3 separate regions of the Homo sapiens genome follow, and all the other regions are linked to region 1. The links are contacts of gene promoters, found by promoter capture Hi-C in blood cells and fetal thymus (Javierre and others, 2016). All regions are on one chromosome and are shown on one strand. The core of a region is centred on a gene start or on the middle of the fragment in contact, and the rest is flanking DNA. Distances in the headings are between cores, read along the strand shown.

Evidence for each region. The method cuts DNA at HindIII sites, captures the fragments that hold promoters and counts their contacts. A CHiCAGO score of 5 or more calls a contact.
Region 2: a fragment that was not itself captured here is called in contact with the fragment with the promoter of FMNL1-AS1 in region 1 in 1 of 17 cell types (neutrophils); the score reaches 5.7 in neutrophils.
Region 3: a contact is called between a fragment that was not itself captured here and the fragment with the promoter of FMNL1-AS1 in region 1, in 4 of 17 cell types (fetal thymus, non-activated CD4 T cells, neutrophils and 1 more). The highest score is 6.9, in fetal thymus.

The regions. Positions count from the first base shown.
Region 1 is chr17:45,240,520-45,243,019 of GRCh38, reverse strand. FMNL1-AS1 (FMNL1 antisense RNA 1) reads left to right here and starts at 1,250. Exons shown (of 3, transcript NR_186808.1): 1 at 1,250-1,909; 2 at 2,416-2,500. FMNL1 (formin like 1) reads right to left here. Exons shown (of 27, transcript NM_005892.4): 12 at 2,395-2,500; 13 at 1,790-1,891; 14 at 1,386-1,638; 15 at 874-1,173; 16 at 555-679. RefSeq lists an enhancer at 1,140-1,858. The HindIII fragment of the contact is 17,531 bases long and covers 1-2,500 here.
Region 2 is chr17:45,340,116-45,345,165 of GRCh38, reverse strand. No RefSeq gene overlaps it. Among named protein-coding and RNA genes, the nearest start is that of MAP3K14, 26 kb to the right of the region's middle. The HindIII fragment of the contact is 6,243 bases long and covers 1-5,050 here.
Region 3 is chr17:45,150,250-45,155,299 of GRCh38, reverse strand. It overlaps HEXIM1 (HEXIM P-TEFb complex subunit 1), which reads right to left. Exons shown (of 1, transcript NM_006460.3): 1 at 3,201-5,050. The coding sequence ends at 5,030. HEXIM2-AS1 (HEXIM2 antisense RNA 1) reads left to right here. Exons shown (of 3, transcript NR_186789.1): 3 at 4,381-5,050. Among named protein-coding and RNA genes, the nearest start is that of HEXIM1, 4.3 kb to the right of the region's middle. The HindIII fragment of the contact is 3,779 bases long and covers 137-3,915 here.

The DNA.
Region 1 (2,500 bases), core at 1-2,500:
GGCCACCAGCAGAGAACCAGTAACCCAGCCTGACCACAGGCCCTGATGGGAGGCACAGGGGAAGCACAGGGAGCCTGGAGGAGGAGGGCCGCCTAACCCGGGGGATCCAGACTTGGGGCCACAAGAGCTAAAGGAAGAGCTGAACTGGCCAGCGGTAAAAAGGAGAAAGGAAAAGACATTCCAGGCAGAGGAAACAGAATGGAACAATGGCCTAGAGGCAAGAGAATACATCCTTTTGGAAAACTGGAAGTGGAATCAGGAGGGCTGAAGCCTTGGCTGCCTGTGGGAAAGTGGAAGGAAAGAGGCCTGGAGGCAGAAGAAGTGGGGTGAGGGGAGGCACCCCTCTGCAGGGATGGAGGGGAAGGCGTTTGGGAAAGCAGGATTCTGCCTGTTAGAGGTATTGGTCCAGTCTGGCTTAATGCCCATCCCTGGGCCTCCCCCTCCTCATCTGTGAAATGGCTTGGAGAAAATGACTACCCCCAGGGCCCAGCCTGATCCAGGCAACTCCCCTCTTCCTCCGGTGCCCACATGGGGAGCCAGGCAGGGCCACTCACCTGCAGCACCTTCTCATCATTGAGCTCTGTGAAGACAGTGCCGGTGATCTGGCTGGGTTTCAGTGCCACCCAGTTCAAGAGTGGCATTCGGAACTTAGTCTGGATGGGCTTCTTGGCCTTCACTCCTGGGACGGGGGTTTGGGGGCAGTGGTGAGCACTGGGGGTACTACTGGAGGGAACCTGGGCCCAGGGAGGGCTGATGGGGCAGCCAGGAGGCAGCAGGAGGCCCCCAGGCAGAGGACCCTGGAGGACACTGAGGCCCAGGCCCCTCCCTCCATCTCCCCCCAGCCCCGGGCCCAAGGTGGTCCACTCCACTCACCTGGGCCCAATTCTGAGTCGCGTCTTCCTAGGGCATCAGGAGGACCTCCGGGAGGCGGCGGCGGCGGCGGCGGCGGCGGAGGCACCGGCCCGTCAGTGCCCGGAGGTGGTGGCGGTGGCGGGGGTGGGGGCGGCAGGTCTCCGGGCAGCGGCGGCGCAGGCGGGGGCTCCGGGCTGCCAGGGAGAGGCGGGGCCTGTGGGGGCGCAGAGGGCGGGGCTTCCTGCGGGGAGGGGAGGCCGGGCAGTGGGGGCGGCGGCGGTGGCGCTGCTCCGGGAGCCGGCTCTGCTGCAGGTGCGAGATCTGAGCCAGCGAGGGCGCGGCGTGGGGGAGGCGCGAGTCAGCTCCTTGACTTGGGTGGGCCCCTCTCCGCCTCTCCGCTCTACGCATGCGCTCCTACCTGAGCCGAGCCTACAATCCAAACCTCCCTCGCCCAACTCTGCCCGCCACAGATGCCCCTGGGCTCCCCTCCAGACCCTGCCCCGCATCCCCGCCAGCCTGAAGCTCCTGCGCACCTGGGCTGGGGGAGCCGGTCGGCACCCCCGGAGTCGGAGCATCACCGCCGCTCGGAGTTGCCACAGCGACGGGGAGGATCTCGATGGAGACAGCATCCCCCGGCCCCCGCAGAATACGGATTAACCCCTTCTCCTCCAGCTCCTCCACCTTCAGCTCCAGGGCCGAGGGCCGCGTCGGGGCAGCGGGAGGCGCTTTCTCAGGCTCTGGGGGACGCCTGGAGGGCCCCATGGCGGTCGATTCGCTGAAGCGCTCCTACGAACCCCACGGGAGGGGTCAGTGCCCACCAGCAGGCTCCTTGGCACCAAGCCTCCATCTTCTTCCCGGGGTGGAGGGAGATGTCAAGCCTAGAAGCCTCAGCTGGCCTGTTCTTGGGCGCCTGGCCTACCACCCGCCCCAGCCTCACCCGCAGGGTCTCCAACTCCTTGCGCGCCTGGCTTAGCTGTTTTTCCAGTTCTGCAATCTTGGCCATGGATTCGTTCTCCGCGTCCCGAAGCCGCTCTGTCAGCTGTAGCACCAGCACATGGTGAGCCCCGACCCGCAGCCCGGCACTGGCACCGCCGGTGAGGGGGCGGCATCAGGCATGCCTGCCTGGAAGACTGGGGGAGGCTCCCAGATCCGCTCAGCCCAGGTGCCAAGGGTGGGCCGAGCCTGGCACTCGAACCCAAGCAAATAAGGAGAGGAAACCAAGGTACCAGTGATGCGGGAGGTGGAGGGAGAGGAGGAGACTGAGCTGGGAGGGGCCCCAGGCACCCATTTCAGTTCACCTGGGGTCTGAGCCTGGGTAGAGGAGGGGCCTGTCAGTGAGGGTGCTCACCCACACTCATTGAGAAAGACACCCAACAGATTCAGGCTTTGGATTCAGGCCAGGCTCTGGGGCCAGGCAGGCAGCACCTCCAATGCACAATTATAACACTGTCTGCTGCCCAGTGCCCATGCTTGCGTGGCCCTGTGGCCCGTGTGCCCTGTGGGCCTATGATGTGCTGGGCTGGGGTCAGGACCCACTCTCACCAGCGCCACTTGCTCCTGCAGTTCCTCCATGTGCTCCAGCACAGCGTTCTTGGTCTCTGTGTCCTCCAGCAGCGCCCCCACATCAAAAATATTGTCCAGGTACGCC
Region 2 (5,050 bases), core at 1,435-3,934, 100 kb before region 1:
CTTGTCAACATAGCGAGACCCCATCTCTATTAAAAAAAAATAGAAAAAAAAAGGAAAGACTCTTACAGCTGCCCAATGGAACATGTGTAGGAATGAGAGTCAGCCATTTTCTCTCCTCAATCAGTCTCTGCATTTTAAGTCATTTATCTTTATTGTGCTATGAAAGTCTTTGGGTTGTGTCAAATGGATTTCAGGCAGGGAGGGAGCAACTGGTGAGAAGTTAGGAGGCTGCTGAAGTCATACCTGGAGTAAAACAGAAGTTCTCACCCCAGACTGCACAGTAGAATCACTGGGGGTCATTTTTTTCCGTGTGTGTGTGTGTGTGTGTGTGTGTGAAGCACCTGTCTGCTGTTGAAAGGGGGGTCTTTTTTTTTTTTTTTTTTTTTGAGACGGAGTCTCGCTCTGTCGCCCAGGCTGGAGTGCAGTGGCATGATCTCGGCTGACTGCAAGCTCCGCCTCCTGGGTTCACGCCATTCTCCCGCCTCAGCCTCCCGAGTAGCTGGGACTACAGGCGCCCGCCACCACACCTGGCTAATTTTTTTGTATTTTTAGTAGAGATGGGATTTCACCGTGTTCGCCAGGATGGTCTCAATCTCCTGACCTCGTGATCCACCCACTTCAGCCTCCCAAAGTGCTGAGATTACAGGCATGAGCCACCACGCCCGGCCGAAAGGGGGGTCATTTTTAAAATCCCAAATGTGCAGACCACATCCCAGACCAATTACATATAAATCTCTGAGGGGGAGCCCCAGACTTCAGGCTGGAGGGCAGTGGCACTATCATAGTTCACTGCAGCCTTGACTTCCTGGGCTTAAGAGATCCTCCCATCTTAGCCTCCTGAGTAGCTAGGACTACAGGCACAAGCCACCACACCTGGCTAATTTGTTGTTGCTTTTTTTTTTTTTTTTGAGATGGGGTCTCACTATCTTGCCCAGTCTCAGGATTTCTTAAAGCTCCCTAGTGATTCCAACAAGCAGCCAAGTTCCAGAACCATGGAGTAAAACCATTCTAGATCAGGCACAGTGGCTCTTGCCTGTAATTCCAGCACTCTGGGAGGCCAAGGTGGGCAGATCAGGAGGTCAGGAGATCAAGACCAGCCTAGCCAACATGCTGAAACCCCCTTCTCTACTAAAAACACAAAAATTAGCCGGGTGTGGTGGCGTGTGCTTGTAGTCCTAGCTACTTGGGAGGCTGAGGCAGGAGAATCGCTTGAACCCGGGAGGCAGAGGTTGCAGTGAGCCAAGATCACTCCACTGCACTCCAGCCTGGGCAACAGAGTGAGACTCCGTCTCAAACAAACAAAAAAACAAACAAACAAAAAATTTCTAAACCAGATGAAGCCAAAAAGGGGTGGGACAGTTGCGGTTGTGGTGATGAATGCCCAACATTTATGTGGACAAAGCTGTGTGATCTTGGACAAATCACTTAATGTCTTGGGGTCTCTGTTTCCTCATCTGTAAAGTGAAGATGATTCTATAACCTTCCTCATAGGGTTATTATAGGGTTGAATGGGACAATGCTTGTAAGTCCTTGGCACAGTGCCTGGCACACAGAAAACACCCAGGAACTTTAGGTTTTGCCTATTATTTTAGAGTTTACAGTGATGTTTTCTATGCAGTATCTCGAAATTATACCTTACCTCCTCAATTATAGGGGTGCACATTTTTGCATTTTAACATCTTTAAAAGTGTAATGCATAGACAGTGTCTTATATTCAGCGACATGACCCTCACCTGCGCTAAGCACTGTTCTAAGGGTTTTATGTTAATTACCTCCTTTAACTCTCACAATATCCCTAGAGAAGAGGATGATTATATCCATCCCCATTTAAGAGACTGGTAAACTGAGGCCCAGAGTGAAGTGCCTTGTCTGTGTTCCCATAGTCAGTGGCAGAACAGGGATTAACCTTGGGTCGGGCTCTAGAGTCTGTGCTCCTGACCACTCTGCTATATAGCAGCTCATGGAAACTGAAAGGCAGGTGAGGTGAGCAGAGTCATCCAGCTGGGATTTGAATCCATGACACCAAAACCACCATGCTTGTTCCCTGTCCTGCTTCTGACTGGAGGCCGATTCCCAGCTGCAGCTGGGGGAGAAGTCCACATGTGGCTGTCAGTGTGTCTGCACAGAGGGGGAGCTGAGACCTAGGGTGAGAAAGAGGGTGATTTGTCCATATTCACACAGTGGCAAAGCTGGGGTTAGGATCTGGGTGTAGATGCCAGAGCCTGTCTCTCTTTCCCTACCCACCCCCAGGGCCTAGCCCCTCTGCTCTGCTCCCCACCCTCCTAGCAAGGCAGGAAAGAATCTGAGAAGGCTGGGCACAGTGGCTTACAACTATAATCCCAGCACTTTGAGAGACCAAGATGGGAGGATTGCTTGATTTACCTACCCTGCCTGGTCTGCCTGGCTGGTGCCCCCTTTCCTTCTCTCCCCTCTTCCTGTGCTAGCCGCGTCTCCTCTCTCGCCGACCTCCATAGGCAACCACTAGGGTATATTCTCTGGCCCATCTGACATGATATTAGCCAGTGTCAACGGCAGGGATGAATTCTTTCCTACCATCCCAAGGCACATCGGGCCCCCCGCCTCACACGTGTTCTGCTCACCATGCATCCGCCTGTACGATGGATCCTGGGCCCTCGCCCTCACCATCCCAGCACAAGAGGGAGTCTCATCATAGTGGCTCCTATCCCTTCAGTGTGTACTCTGCCCCACCCGGCATTCTGCTAATTGTTGCATGTGCACGCCTCAGTTTCCCCACAGCTGCCCCATGAGCCCGGTGGAATGATTACCCCCACTTTGAAGGTAACAAGCCTGAGGGACTCAGGCTGAGCAGCTTGCTGAGATGGAACATGAACCCAGGTCCGTGTGACTTCCACACCCGTCTTCCAGGAAATATTTGTGGAATCCATCATTTTATTACATTACAATATTAATCCATACAATAATGGGTTCAACAAATATTTCCTGGGTTCCTCTCGTGGGCTGGCTGAGCTGGGCATAGCATGGTGAGCAGAGCAGGGTGAGTCTCAGCCTTCAGGGAACTTAGAACCAACTGGGCCAATGGACTCGATTTGAAGACTCACACCCGGATGCGGTGCAGCTTCAGATGCAGAGGGCCGTGGAAGAGGCCAGCGGGAGGCTGGAGCCAGCAGGAACCGTGGAGCCTGTTTCAGCAGAGTGGCAGGAAGTGAGGAAGGGAGGCCTGGAGAAGGAGCCAGCCTACCTTCAGGAGTCAAGGGGGCAGGACTTTGCTGGTATGGGGAGGGCCTCGAGCAAGCGTCCAGCCACGCCCCCTCCTCCCCTACTGGGAGAGCCACAGGATGCCCCAAGAGCAAGAGAGCAGGCAGAGCCCTGACAGGATCCAAGTCGAGTCATTAAGAGACTCTCCGCCTGGGTGGATCCACTGTCAGTCTCAGCACCCACCAGCTCCCATCCTCCTCTGGCAAAGGAGAGGTCATCCCCCAGGTCCATGGCTGACGGGGCAGAGGACCGTATTTGTCATCCAGCTCCAGCTCAGATTCTTAGGAAATAACAAAGTAACAAGAGATCAGAGAGGTCTAACTCAGTCAGAGGCGCTGGCAGATTTTAATCAAAAACAGCACAGAAGTTAAAACCTTAACCCAAACCATCCCTGCCAGATAAATTCAGTCTCTCCTGGAAGTTCTTTATAAAGGGTTCTCCATGCACTGCACAGTACACAGTCATCAGTTTCTGTGCTTAAATAATACTCATGGGCTGTGAATCCTTCTTCACCCTAAGCCTAAATCTTCTTTACTGGAATCTAACATGAATACCAGCTTCTCACTATATTTCTATTTGTGAGATAATATATATTTGAAGATGGTAAATTGTTTTCCAATACAAACTTAAAAATTACACCAGTCGCAGTGACTCACATCTGTAATCCCAGCACTTTGGGAGGCTGAGGCAGGAGGATGGCTTGAGGCCAGGAGTTTGAGACCAGCCTGGGCAACATGGCAAAACCCCTTCTCTACTAAAAGTTTTAAAAATTAAAAAATCCGGGCATGGTGGCACACACCTGTAGTCCCATCTACTCAAGAGACTGAGGTGGGAGGATCGCTTGAGCCCAAGAGGTCAAGGCTGCAGTGAGCTATGATCGGGCCATTACACTCCAGCCTGGGAAACAGAATGAGACCCTGTCTCAAACAAACAAACAAACAAACAAACAACTTAAAAATTTTGTGGCTCACACCTACAATCCAGCACTTTGGGGGGCCAAGGCAGGTGGATCATTTGAGGTCAGGAGTTCCAGACCAGCCTGGCCAACATGGTAAAACCCTGTCTCTACTAAAAATACAAAAAAAATTACCTGGGCATGGTGGTGTGCGCCTGTAATCACAGCTAATGGGTAGACTGAGGCAGGAGAATCGCTTGAACCCAGGAGGCCGAGGTTACAGTGAGCTGAGATCACACTACTCCACTCCAGCCGGGGTGACAGAGTGAGACTCTTGTCTCAAAAAAAAAAAAAAAAAAGTAAAAATTAAAGATGACCCTAGAGCTTTGATGTAAAATGGCAGGGTTATCTTAAGCCACTTTGCTCCTTTGGTTCTGTTGGCACTGAGACAGCCAGTGAGGAGGAGCAGGGGCACAGGAAGGAGGGTGCAACTGCAGCACAGCCAAGGAGACAGGGACCAGGTCCCACCCCAGCCTTAAGCAGGGCAAAGACAGGAGCCCAGATGCCCAGGGACCCCTGTGAACCACCCGTCAGCACATCCCAGAAAGGTCCTGAGGACTCCAGAGTCACTCCAGTCCTTCTCACCTACCTTGTCACAAGAACCATCACACACACACACACATACATACTGACTGGCATGAACATTTTGGGGTGTCAGATGTAACAGTGCCAACTGAGGGTAGGCTTGACAGATCTAAATGCTTGTCCCAACTTTGCCCTTTCTAGCTGTGTGACCTTGGACAGGTACCTAACCTCTCTGATGGTTGGTATCCTCTCTGGGAGAATGGGGTGAAGACTCACACAAGACAACCCTCATGGGGTAGTTCTGAGGACCGATGGAGTCATGGAGCCAAAGTG
Region 3 (5,050 bases), core at 777-3,276, 88 kb after region 1:
ACTATGTTACCCAGGCTGGTCTCAAACTACTGAGCTCAAGGATTCTGCCCACCTTGGCCTTCCAAAGTGCTAGGGTTACAGGTGTGAGTCACCGGGCCTGTTGAAACCCCAATTCTTTAAAAAAAAAAAAAAAGCTTTTTTTTTTTTTTTTTTTGAGACAGAGTCTTATTCTGCCACCTAGGCTGGAGTGCAGTGTGGCGTGATGTTGGCTCACTGCAACCTTTGCCTCCCGGATTCAAGTGATTCTCCTGCCTCAGCCTCCCAAGTAGCTGGGATTACAGGCACCCACCACCATGCCCAGCTAATTTTTGTGTTTTTTTGTTGTTGTTTTTGTTTTTGAGACGGAGTCTCGCTCTGTTGCCCAGGCTGGAGTGCAGTGGTGTGATCTCGGCCCACTGCAAGCTCTGCCTTCCGGGTTCACGCCATTCTCCTGTCTTAGCCTCCCGAGTAGCTGGGACTAAAGGCGCCCGCCACCACACCCAGCTAATTTTTTGTATTTTTAGTAGAGACGGGGTTTCACCATGTTAGCCAGGATGGTCTCGATCTCCTGACCTCGTGATCCGCCCGCCTTGGCCTCCCAAAGTGCTGGGATTACAGGCGTGAGCCACCACACCTGGCCAATTTTTGTATTTTTAGTAGAGACAGGGTTTCACCATGTTGGCCAGGCTGGTCTGGAACTCTTGACCTCAGGTGATCTGCCTGCCTCGGCCTCCCAAAGTGCTGGGATTACAGGCGTGAGCCACTGCGCCCGGCCTTTTTTTTTTTTTTTTTTTGAGGCTGAGTTTCACTCCTGTTGCCCAGGCCGGAGCACAATGGGGCGATCTCGGCTCACTGCAAACTCCGCATCCCGGGTTCATGCCATTCTCCTGCCTCAGCCTCTCAAGTAGCTGGGACTACAGGCACCTGCCACCATGCTCGGCTAATTTTGTATTTTGTATTTTTAGTAGAGATGAGGTTTCTCCATATTGGTCAGGCTGGTCTCTTAACTCCAGATCTCAAGAGATCCACCCACCTCAGCCTCCCAAAGTGCTGAGATTATAGGCATGAACCACCACGCCCGGCCCAACCTTTTTTTTTTTAAATTAAAATATAGGTAACTAATTGTTTTCTCTGCCAGGAGAGCAATATGCTAGTTAAATGTTTCAATAGAAAGTGAAGAAATAGGAGGCCGGGTGTGGTGGCTCACACCCATCATCCCAGCACTTTGGGAGGCCGAGGCAGGTGGATCACGAGGTCAGGAGATCGAGATCATCCTGGCTAACACGGTGAAACCCCGTCTCTACTAAAACTACAAAAAAAAAATTAGCTGAGCGTGGTGGCGGGTGCCTGTAGTCCCAGCTACTTGAGAGGCTGAGGCAGGAGAATGGCATGAACCTGAGAGGCGGAACTTGCAGTGAGCCGAGATCGCGCCACTGCACTCCAGCCTGGGCGACAGAGCAAGACTCCATCCCTCACCCCCCCCCCAAAAAAAAGAAAAGTGTAGGAATAGGCTGGGCTTGGTGGCTCACAACTGTAATTTTGGGAGGCGGAGGAGGGCGCATTGCTTGAGCCCAGGAGTTTGAGCCCAGGAGTTTGAGACCAGCCTGTGCAACAGGGTGAAACCCTGTCTCTCCAAAAAAAAAAAAAAAAAAAAAAAAATAGCCAGGCGTGGTGGCAAGTACCAGCTACTCAGGAGGCTGCAGTGGGAGGATCGCTTTAGCCTGGGAAGTGGAGGTTGCCGTAAGTCCAGATCGCGACACTGCACTCCAGCCTAGGCAACAGAGCAAGACCCATCTCAAAAAAAAAAAAAAAAAAAAGCCAGGCGCGGTGGCTTATGCCTATATTGCCAACACTTTGGGAGGCTGAGACGGGCGGATCACTTGAAGTCAGGAGTTCGAGACCAGCCTGGCAACCATGGCGAGACCCCGTCTCTACTAAAAATAGAAAAATTAGCCAGTTGCAGTGGCGTGCACCTGTAATCCCAGCTACTCGGGAGGCTGAGGCAGGAGAATCGGTTGAACCCAGGAGGCTGAGGTTGCAGTGAGCCGAAATCACGCTACTGCACTCCAGCCTGGCGACAGAGTGAGACTCCGTCTCAAAAAAAAAAAAAAAGTATAGAAAGTGTTAAAACTGAAATTTTGAATAAACCTCATCATTGTGAGAATATAAATGCAAAAAAAAAGGTAAAATGCTAGTGCCTTTGAAAGCAAAATTCAGACATACTTGCATAGCTTAAGGTAAATTGATGTATGAGAGTTATTTGTAATTAGATATTTGTGTATATATATATTTTTGAGACAGTTTCGCTCTTCTTGCCTAGGCTGGAGTGCAATGGCGCGATCTCCTCTCACTGCAACCTCCACCTCCCGGGTTCAAACGATTCTGCTGCCTCAGCCTCCCGAGTAGCTGGGATTACAGGCATGTGCCACCACACCCGGCTAATTTTTGTATTTTTAGTAGAGACGGGGCTTCTGTATGTTGGTCAGGCTGGTCTCTTAACTCCTGACCTCAGGTGATCTGCCCACCTCAGCCTCCCAAAGTGCTGGGATTACAGGCATGAGCCACTGTGCCCAGCCTAGATATCTGTATATTTGAAGACTGGGCTGAATTTGTCTTCTAAAACATACTTTTTCTGATGATAAATGCATTTATAGTCTTTCCAAGATTCATTTTCTAAATATCATTTTTCTAATACTAGGGGAAATAAGATTTTCATAGCTGAATCCCTCTTTAAGAAGAGGGTCTGGGCTGGGCGCAGTGGCTCATGCCTGTAATCCCAGCACTTTGGGAGGCCGAGGCGGGCGGATCACCTGAGGTCGTGAGTTCGAGAGCACCCTGACCAACATGGAGAAACTACGTCTCTACTAAAAATACAAAATTAGCTGGGGGTGGTGGCACATGCCTGTAATCCCAGCTACTAGGGAGGCTGAGGCAGGAGAATCGCTTGAACCTGGGAGGCAGAGGTTGCGGTGAGCCAAGATTGCACCATTGCACTCCAGCCTGGGCAACAAGAGCGAAACTCCGTCTCAAAAAAAAAAAAAAATAAAGAAAAAGGGTCTAATATCAGAGATAATCACTGCTGCATCTTACAGTTCAGTCAAAATGAGGCTTCAGCTCTGCACTGTAAAGCCAGAGGGCACTGTTGCTGCCTTTCCAAGCAGCTGTTTTTCTGGGGCTGCTGCATGACGTCATAGCAGAAGAAAAAAACACGAAGAAAACTATTTCAAAATAAATGTTTAATATAATTTTTAGACCAAAGAAAAACTCAATCATACATTGTCTCCAGTGGACCATATGTGCCAGAACAGGACCAACTCAGTCCAGCTTTGAAGGCCCTGATTCAGTCCTACTGGTATAATCTCCCTTGATTTATTGATTTGTGTATGCTTCTTATGCAATACAAGGTGCATTTTACTCTTGAAGTCCCTATCACCTCCACCATCGCCATTTAACTGCAAAAGCATGCTTCCTAATGGGAGGGTTTTCTTCCCCCTTCCCTGCAGAGGTTCTGAACCTTCAAGGAGTTTGACAATCTTATGAATCTCTTGAACCTTCTCCCCAGAAAAATGTACATACAAGTCTACAAATAATTTCATGGGGTTCATGGACCCCAAGGCCCACAATGGTTTCTAAGGCCCCAAATTAAGGAACCTCTGTGCTAGTGATTTGAGCAACGCAATTGCCCTCAGAAGACACTGACACAGGGCAGGTGAAGGACTGGGTTAACCAAAATGACAGGAGGCAATCTCATAATTTCTGTTTTTATTTTGGGGCAAAATTTAGTTCTCAGGGCCTCCCTACGTTTAAGAGCAGAACTACTCAAGAACCTAAGCAGCTATCAGCATAGTTTAAGCGATTTAGAATAGGGCTGTGCAAGGGGATGTACAGGGTTCCTCATTCAGCTGAGGACCTCATTTAGCTCCTTAACTGGAAGCTTTACATTTGATCTGCAGTGAGGGGACATTTCTAATTTTAGTTTGACCCACATGGAAAGGTGGATAGCTTTTTTTTTTTGTTTTGGTATAGAGAGCACGTAGAATTGGACAATTAGGTAAATCCTTGGAATCCCCCAAACAGCCATTTGCTTTATAAATCCAGTATTTCTTACCTCTGAACGTCTTAAAGAGCTGCCTCACAAATTAATCTAACCATTGCTTGCACTAAGAAGTTTGCCAAGAGCCTCTTCCAGCCTTACTGGGGGGAAGGAAGAGATTACTGAAAACCAACTTGTAGGAATGAAATGAGGCTGTCAGTTGTCTAACCTAACAAACTGCCAAATTAGGTTTACATTTTTTGTTATTAGACTTTTGAATGGCCGAGGCAGAGTTAAATTTAAAATTTTGGATTGTAGCCACTTTCCACTCGCCTAAACACTCAATACCGGTTTGTTTATTTTTCCAGCATCAAGAAAGAAAACCAAGGCACTAGAAAGCAAGCACACTTAAGTATTGAAGATAATTACATCTTAAATTTTGCCTGAACTGTATATTGTAGCATACTTAAACCCATTCAAGGAAAAAATTGGCAAATTGAAAATTCTCCCATTAAAGATTGATATTTTTGCAAACTGACAAATTTAACGATTTCGGTACCCCTCCCCAAAAATGCAGTCACATAAAATATATCAATACTATTTTGAATTAGCTCTAGAAATCACACTGAAACTATGTTACATTTACAAATATTAAATTTATTATAACTAAAATGAATTTAATTGTTCTCAGATTTGGCCACCTTATAGCTCCGTTTAAGGAGGGGATTTGTTAAAAACAAAAATGCATTATAACTTGGTCAAATTACTTTCACATTAAGGAAAAAAACTTCTAAAAAGGAAAACAAGAAAAGCAACTCTTCAGTTTCACATAATTAAAAGAACAGGAGAAAGCACGCAAGCTACATATAGCTAAATTTACGAAACCAAAGCCAGGGGGATTTCTCTTCTGATTATGTGTCATAAAAAGGTCCACTGTCTTATATACACATGTATATAATGTTACATTCCATCACTGTAAAAAGTCCCCTTTGCCCCCTCCCCCAAAAAAGTTTCAGTCTAGTCTCCAAACTTGGAAAG